Regions from separate parts of the Homo sapiens genome. Here regions 1 and 2 are each linked to region 3. The links are contacts of gene promoters, found by promoter capture Hi-C in blood cells and fetal thymus (Javierre and others, 2016). All regions are on one chromosome and are shown on one strand. The core of a region is centred on a gene start or on the middle of the fragment in contact, and the rest is flanking DNA. Distances in the headings are between cores, read along the strand shown.

Region 1 (2,700 bases), core at 180-2,679, 130 kb before region 3:
TGGCTAGAGAACAAAATCTTTCCCATTATTTCTAGCCTGAGGCCTAGAATTGACTCTCATTGGTTCAGCTGGAGTCACATGCTCATGTCTGAACCAATGAGAGCCTGAGAAATGAGCTGCTCTCATTGGTCAGGCCTGAGTCTTGTGCCCCACCCTGGGGCTAGAGAAGAGGCTCAGCCAGCCATGCCTGAACCACATAGACCAAGAGTCAGGGAAGAGGGGATTTTCCTTTGGACAAGTGAGTTAGTATTACCAGAAGGTGTGGGAAAGGAGACTGAGCTGAGATAAGGCAACAGATCGCCTCTAATGCCTGCGTGATGATCCTTATTTGAGGGGCAGCCCCACACTGGAAAGTGTTGTAGAGTAGGCCACTCCCAGAGAGACATGTACAGTTGTGCAGACTGGGTACTGAACGAGAGCACCACCTCTCGGGCAATGCCATTCCCTTTGTCGGTCTTTATAATTGTTCCAGTTTTCTAGTGATAGCAGCAAAGCATCTCATTCTTACAGAATCTATCTATTAAAACAATCCTACAATGGATGGAAATAAAGTGCTTTACAGAAGGGAACTTTTCTAGTTTGTACAAAAGTGCACCTGTAGGGGTGGGGGATAGCAGCTGTGTCCACACTTATCAATGATAAAGCATTCTCACATCACTGCATTAATTTACTGAGTCTTTGCTGACCTGAGTTGCTCTATGTATTGGTCCATGTTCCTGGATATATGTGACAGAAATTCATCAAGGACAAATGGCTGTCACTGCTGAGCCTCTGGGTTGCCTAGAGGCTGGGCATGAAAGCCCCCAGGGCCTCTCTTCCTCCTCTATCTTTGCTTCTCTTCCACCTAGGAAGGAAATGGCTCATGTTATTTGAGCCTCCTAGCTCAAAACTTCCAGACTTCACCTAGGGTTTTAATCTGCTCAGGTTACGATAACAAAATACCACAGACTGGATGGCTTAAACAATAGGAATTCATTTCTCCCGGTTCTGGAGATGGGAAGTCCAAGATCAAGGTGCCAGAAGGGTTGGTGTCTGTCGAGGGCTCCCCTTGGGTCACAGACAGCCATTCTCTTGCTCTGTCTTCACCATGTCCTCTCCATGTGTGGGTGGGCTTGTGAGCTTGAAAGCAAGCTCTCTGGTGTCTTCTTATAAGGGCACTAATCCCATCATGAGGGCCCCACCCTCATGATCCTATCTAACCCTAATTACCTCCCAAAGGCCCTCGCTCCAAAATACCATCACATGGAATTTGGTGGGGTGGATAGAATTCAGTCTATAGTACCTAGCTGTCACTCAATATCCCTACTTGGGATTTCAAAGGTCTCAGGGAAGGACCAGACTGAGGTCACAAGCTTCCTTTTGTAGCCTGGGTTATAACTGGGGAAGGGAGGGCAATGTCTTCCCACAAAGAAAGGGAGAGCTGTTCCAGAAGGAGGAAGAGTGCTGAGCAGACAGTAATAGCAATGGCTGACTTTTGCTGAGAGCTTGTTCATGCTGGGCACTGTGCTAAGCTTCTGTGTATTCAGTCATTTGATGCTTGTGATCATCCTGTGTGGTGGGAACTGTCATTACTCCCATTTTACAGGAAAAGGAACTGAGGCCCAGAGAGGTTACTCAGCTTGCCCTAGGCAATACAGCCAAGAGTGGCAGAACCGGAATTTGAGTCCAGACTGTCTCACCCCAGGGTGCATGAGCACCACACACCAGTATGGCTGTCCTTCGCATTCCTGTGGTCTCTGCCGTGGATCTGGCTTATACCTTCCTCTGGGCAATGCATTCCCTGAATATCTTGTAATCCTTGGTTGCCAGTTCCTATTTAGGGTGTGGGGCACTGAGATAATTCCAGGGAACTTGGGTTTCACGAGGGAGCTTCTCTGTCTGCTGGCTTCTTGTTGAGGCCTCCGATGTGGTGTGGGGGCACTTCTCAGTGCTTGGGGGAGGCCTTTTCTTTGGAGGTACTGATTTTTTTTTTTTTTTCAAGAGAAGAATCCTTTGGTATTTTCGGTCTGGGGGCAGAGGTGATATTCAGAATAGTTTTGTTGTTGTTGTTGTTTTTGAGACAGAGTGTTGCTCTGTTGCCCAGACTGGAGTGCAGTGGCGAAATCTTGGCTCACTGCAATCTCCACCTCCCGAGTTCAGGCAATTCTCCTGCCTCAGCCTCCCAAGTATCTGGGATTACAGGTGTGTGCCACCAGGCCCAGTTAATTTTTGTATTTTTAGTAGAGGCGGGGTTTCACCATGTTGGCCAGACTGGTCTTGAGCTCTTGGCTTCAGGTGATCTGCCCGCCTCAGTCTCCCAAAGTGCTGGGGTTTACAGACATGAGCCACTGCACCCAGCCAATATTCAGAATGTTTTACAAGTTTCTCCAGACTATGTAGCTGGGTCAGAGTCCTTGGCAGGTGTTGCCCTTTCGTTCCTTTATCTCCTGGATTATAGTGTGGGCCAGAAGGTCCTAGGAGAGGGGTCTGGAGTCCCTCGGGGATTGAGGCAGATCAGATAGTCGCAACCGGGGCTATGTGCTTATTTCAGCATTTCAATGCCTGTCATTACTTATTGCCTCTAGGTGTGGAGTAGGGGGGATGCCTGACCCTGCACACCAGCTGTGTAGATGTGGGAGAGGGGTTTCTTCCAGATGCAGACTCTCAGTAATATCCCTTGTTTCTGCCTCCATGGCTCACTCCTGCCCTCCACTGATCTGG
Region 2 (2,700 bases), core at 42-2,541, 160 kb before region 3:
GCCTGGCCTTGTCCTAAAAGCTCATCTATTAACTCATTCTGATCTTGCCAAAGCCCTCTGAAGTTAGTGCTGTCATCATCACCACTTTACAGCTGGAGGAAGTGGAGACAGAGGTCAGGGAACCTGAACTCTAGGTTACCCAGCTGAGGGCACAGCCGGGATTCAAACCCAGGCATCCGGCTCCAGGTTATTTTGCATTCTTTCTTTGGAGATCAGAGTTCATGGATAGATGGATAATTGGTTGTTTTAATCTGGACTAAATTTTAGTCATTTGGATAGATTCTGTCCACTAAATAAGAAACATAAGTAAATGACACTTGTTAGCTAAGATGAAATAGTAGTAATGTTTATACTCACTCAGCCTTCACAGCCACCCTGTGAGATGGGCAGTACTGCTATCCCTGCTTTACAGATGGGGAAACTGAGGCACAGGGAAGTTATGTGATTAGTTTCCTGGCTCTAGTCAGCTCTAAACCTAACCCCTAGGCTGTACCACCTCATCGCCTGGGGACGAGACTCATCCTGTGATTGAGGAATGCATGCAGCCTCTCTTGACACTGACGCCCACGCCCAGAAGCCTCGTTGGAGGATAAGGGGGCTTAACAGCTTGGAGGTCATGCAGATCTGGGTTCCAGGCCCAGTCCTGTGTGGCCTCAGTTTTCCCATCTGTCAAACGGGGACAATCGTGGCACCCGCTTCCCAGTTGTGGAGAGGACTCAGGTGATGGAGGCAACTCATCCTTTTGGGGTTCAGCACAAGGTGGGCATCCCACAGTGGTCGGCAAGCTTGGGGGTGGGCTCCGGATCCAGCTCCTAGAGGAGCAGACCCCAGCAGCTTGTGGTTTGAGCCATGCCCGTCAGCTCTCAGTTTCCTTCACTGACTATTGGGTATGATAAACAGGGTCCCTGAAAGTGAAGTTGGAGAGCTGAGTGCCAGGGGCACAGAGGGATCTGAACCCACTCTCATAGGGTGCCCAGCCCAGCAGTCCAGTTCACAAGGAGGAGGATGACAAGGACAATAATAATAGGCCAGGCACGGTGGCTCATTTCTGTAATCCCACATTTTGGCAGGCTGAAGTGGGAGGATCGCTTGGGGCCAGGAGTTCAAGACAAGCCTGGGCAACATAGAGAAACCCCGACTGTACAAAAAATTAAAAAATTAGCCAGGCATGGTGTCGCACGCCCATAGTCCCAGCTACTCAGGAAGCTGAGGTGGGAGAATCACTTGAGCCCATGAGGTTGAGGCTACAGTGAGCTATGATTGTGCCATTGCACTTCAGCCTGGGTGACAGAGCAAGACCCGGTCTCAAACAAACAAACAAAAAATGAAGTTAATCATAAGACAATGTCAAGTTCAGAGACCTCTGAGCCCTGTCCAGGATTATACACGTGATCTTAGTGATTTTTCCATTTTGGAGCATGTGAAAATGAGGCACAGAGCTGCTCAAGTTCACACAACCAGGAGTGCAGTGCCTGGGCCATTCCAGGTTTCCCTGTCACCAGGACCTGTAAACCTGGCCTGCCCATGGGGACGCCAGGTGTGTTGTCCCCGACAAGAGCTCAGGGGAAGGAAAGTGTGGGGTTAAATACATATCTGTGGTTTTGGAATGTGTGAACATGCAAGTGTGTCAGCCTGCGCATCTGTCACCGTGGCCAACCATGTGCCTGTTTGCTCAAGCATAGGGTGTGAACCAGTGTGTGTGTTTCTGCTTTTGTGGGTATGTGTGAGAGCGGCGGGTTGTCCTTGATGGTGTTTCTGCTTGTGTATCTGTGCCCATGGAAATCTGTCTGTGTGTACACAAGCTTGTTGGCCTTCCTATCTTTGGGACCATGTAGGAGTGCTGGCTGCATGTCTGTACCTTTGGGGTTTTTTTGTTTTGTTTTTGTTTTTGAGACAGAGTCTCGCTCTGTTGCCCAGGCTAGAGTGCAGTGGCATGATCTCAGCTCACTGCAAGCTCTGCCTCCCGGGCTCAAGTGACTCTCCTGCCTCAGCCTCCGGAGTAGCCGTGATTACAGGCGCACGCCACCACACCCAGCTAATTTTTGTATATTTTTTTAGTAGAGACGAGCTCTCGTCGGGTTGGCCAGGCTGGTGTTGAACTCCTGGCCTCAAGTGATCCTCCCGCCTTGGCCTCCCAAAGTGCTGGGAGTACAGGTGTGAGCCACCGTACCTGGCCATGTTTGGCCATGCATCTTAGAATGCATTTATGTGCGGTGTGCACATACTTGTGTGTTTCTGTATGGCCATTTGTGGGTGGGTCTTCACATAAACATGCATTTTTGTGGCCAGTTTGTGAGTGTAGATGGTGATGTGGCTATGTCTTTGACTGTATCTCTGTGTGGCCATCCATCTACATGAGCGTGCGTGGGTCTGTGTAGACATAAATGTGCTTGTTCTGGTATTTTGTGACTGGCATAAAAGGTGTTGGCTGTGTGTCCGGGTCTTTGGGTTTCTCTATCAGTGTGTCATTCTGTGTGTGTCTGCTTCTATGGATGTACATACATACATGGTTTTGTCTGGTTTTGTACCTGTATATCTGGGTCTTTGGGATTGTGTGTGGGTGTGTGTGTGTGGTGCATTTCTGGGGATCTCACCACAGCAGATAGCGCACATGCGCGCGCACACACACACACACACACACACCTCCCTCCCGTCCTCTAAAACAGCCCTGTTAAGGACCTCACGGAGCACTGGGATCGG
Region 3 (2,700 bases), core at 173-2,672:
CCCCCCAGGATCTCCTTGTCACCCCGACCACCACCACCAAAGCCCAGGCACCAGGCCCCTCTCTTCTCCAGGACCCAGGCATTCAAGCCCCGCCCGACTCTCAATGGTCCTTTGTCCCGGACTGGGAAAGGCACGGGCAGAGTCTGACATCATGAAGCCTGGGGTGGGGGTGGGACTCCCCCTCCCCCTCCAACTCCCCCCCAGCCCCACAACGCTTCTCTCCCTGGTCTGAGGGATTTCCCCGCCCCTCACCCCCTGGGTTCTCCCTTGAGAGCGAGGACCCCCCCTCCCCACTGCTCTGGCCTGAAGGAGGACAGGAGATGTCCCAGTGAGGCTGAACAGCTCATGGTGAAATCACTGCTGCACTTTGTCACGCCACCTCCAGCTGCCCCGAGCCCCCACCCACCTTGCAAAAGTCATGACCAAGGGGTGGAATCTGCACTCAGAGGGTCCTTGCCCAACTTGGTCAGCACAGTCCTATGTGCACCAAGCACTGCCCCGGGGACAGAAGGGTGCACATGACAGACAGAGAGGCAGATAGGTTTCTGGTGAGCCCCTGCCTCTGAGAGCTCCTGGGTTAGTGGGAGGCAGAGGCGGGCAGACCTAGGGTGCACACGGGCCAGCCTGCCAAGGCTACAGAAGGAAAGGACAGCATTGCAATGGAGGGGCCTGGCTGATGGGCGAAGATGGGAAAGCTTCCCAGGGAAGCGGCACCCAGGCTGCTGAGCCTACAGGATGGGTGAACGGCAGCCAGTGCCAGAGTGGGGAGTGCTATGGGGTGGGGACTGCTTTCCAGGAAGAATGAGCAGCAGGTGCACAGGCCTTGAGTCTGAAGGTGCCCTGGGGCTCTGGGGAACACATTCAACCACCCACACTGTTTATTAAGCTCAACTGCCTGCCAGGAGCTTGTCTACGAGCAAGGATGGATTGAGAATATCCAAGACGAAGCTTCTGGCCTGGTGGAGGTCACGTTCTCATGAAAGGAGTTGGTGAACACGGAAGGTCATTTCAGATGGCAAGAGGAGGTGACACTGACGTTGAGGGTGGAAAGGACCTGTCTCCTCCTGCTGCCCACCTAATGTTGCCACCAAGATTCCCTGAGGACAATGCCTCTGTCCCTCAGCCTGGGACTTCCAAAGAGATTAGACTGCCCCCCCACCCCCGGGACCCAGAATCAGGGTGTACAGGGATGGAAGATGGGGAGAGAGCAAGGCAGCCACTCCCGACCCCTCCAGGAAAGAGCTAGGAGAACCCAGGCGTCAGGCTGCCCAGTCCGAGCCCCGTGGTGACAAGGGCCCCTTTGTGCCCCCCTCCCCCGGGGGTAGGGAGGAGCTGGGCCCTGGAGGCAGGCGGCCCCTGGCACCCAGGGGGAGGGGAGGGGCTGGCAAGTGGGGGCCTAGACCCTGGAAGGCAGGGGACTGCGAGCTGGGCTGGCGGAGCAGAGGTGCAGAAGCAACTGAGTCCAAGTGAGTATGGTGGCAGGGAGGCCAGGGCAAGGGGAGCAGGGCACCGGGGCAGTGGCACCCAGACGTGAGCAGGGTCAGGTGCTCTGGGTGAGGGAGCATCGCTGTGCACCGCTACTGATTTAGGATGCAGGAGTGTGTGGCTTGGGGCTGCTTTGGGGATGGGCTCGGACCATCGCTGGGGCAGCGATGGGGCTCTGGGAAGAAACCACAGAGAGAAAAAACAAAGGGCCCCCCCTCAGCACCCCTTGTGGGTGAAGATTTTGCAGGAGAGGTTTCCTTGGGGTTCCCGAGTGCGGGGCAGATGGGGTGGAGGAGGTCTGCATCTGGCCGAAGAATGGAAGGATGTCCAGGTGATCAGACACCTGCAGGCTGCAATCTGGGAGGTGGATGGGGGCAGTGGGCTGTTAGTGACTGCATTCTAGCACCTGGGCACATAGCAGGTGTGTGTGTGTGTGTGTGTGCGTGTGCGTGCACACACATGGCTGCCCATGCACCTTCCTCTGTAAGCCTCAGTCGACTTTTCTTCATTAATCCCCACTAAGGACACTTTTTATTTTTCGTTACTTTTTTTTTTTTAAGAGACGGGACTCTCACTATATTGCCCAGGCTGGTCTCAAACTTCTGGGCACAAGAGATTCTCCCAACTTGGCCTTCCAAAGTGCTGGGTTTACAGGCGTGAGCCACTGCGCCCGGCCCCAACTACAGAAACTTTTTAGATGCATTTGTCCTCATCCCATCCTTCCCTTGGCATTTTAATCCAACAGATCTGCTGTACATATGTTTATGGACTGTGGCCACACACACTGTAATAGCTGAGGTTGATTTGGCCCCCATCCCGAGAACTTGTTTTCCCCGCTGTTAAGAGTGCATGGTCTACCTGCTTGTTTCATGTCTGCCCGGGCACGTGCTCATCCTCATCTGCATCTCTCTCCTGTACCTTCCTGTCACAGGTGCAAGGGCAGCGTCGGCCAGGTGTCCATCGGCGCGTGTCTGAGTGGACGCGTCTATAGCCATCCTCAGTGTGTGTGTGCAGTTCCTTGCATCTTTGTTAGCCTGGCATGCATGCTGGGCTGTGTGTGTGTGTGTGTGTGTGTGCTGAATGCCAGGGCTGTGTCTGTCCAGGTGTGTGTGGACAGCAGCAGAGGCATTGCATGCACGCCTTGGGAACTATGTGAGTGCCAGCCCATCCCTGTGGGCACAGGGGTCCCTGTGCCTGTCTGTGTGTTCAGGGTCC

The links. The method cuts DNA at HindIII sites, captures the fragments that hold promoters and counts their contacts. A CHiCAGO score of 5 or more calls a contact.
Region 1: a fragment that was not itself captured here is called in contact with the fragment with the promoter of MAG in region 3 in 8 of 17 cell types (naive B cells, total B cells, monocytes and 5 more); the score reaches 9.0 in naive B cells.
Region 2: a contact is called between a fragment that was not itself captured here and the fragment with the promoter of MAG in region 3, in 2 of 17 cell types (total B cells and naive CD8 T cells). The highest score is 7.8, in total B cells.

The regions. Positions count from the first base shown.
Region 1 is chr19:35,161,444-35,164,143 of GRCh38, forward strand. All of the region lies in intron 5 of FXYD5 (FXYD domain containing ion transport regulator 5), which reads left to right. Among named protein-coding and RNA genes, the nearest start is that of FXYD5, 8.1 kb to the left of the region's middle. The HindIII fragment of the contact is 159 bases long and covers 1,351-1,509 here.
Region 2 is chr19:35,135,755-35,138,454 of GRCh38, forward strand. It overlaps a transcript of FXYD1 not described here. Among named protein-coding and RNA genes, the nearest start is that of FXYD1, 1.7 kb to the right of the region's middle. The HindIII fragment of the contact is 1,017 bases long and covers 784-1,800 here.
Region 3 is chr19:35,290,739-35,293,438 of GRCh38, forward strand. MAG (myelin associated glycoprotein) reads left to right here and starts at 1,423. Exons shown (of 11, transcript NM_002361.4): 1 at 1,423-1,466. The HindIII fragment of the contact is 16,958 bases long and covers 947-2,700 here.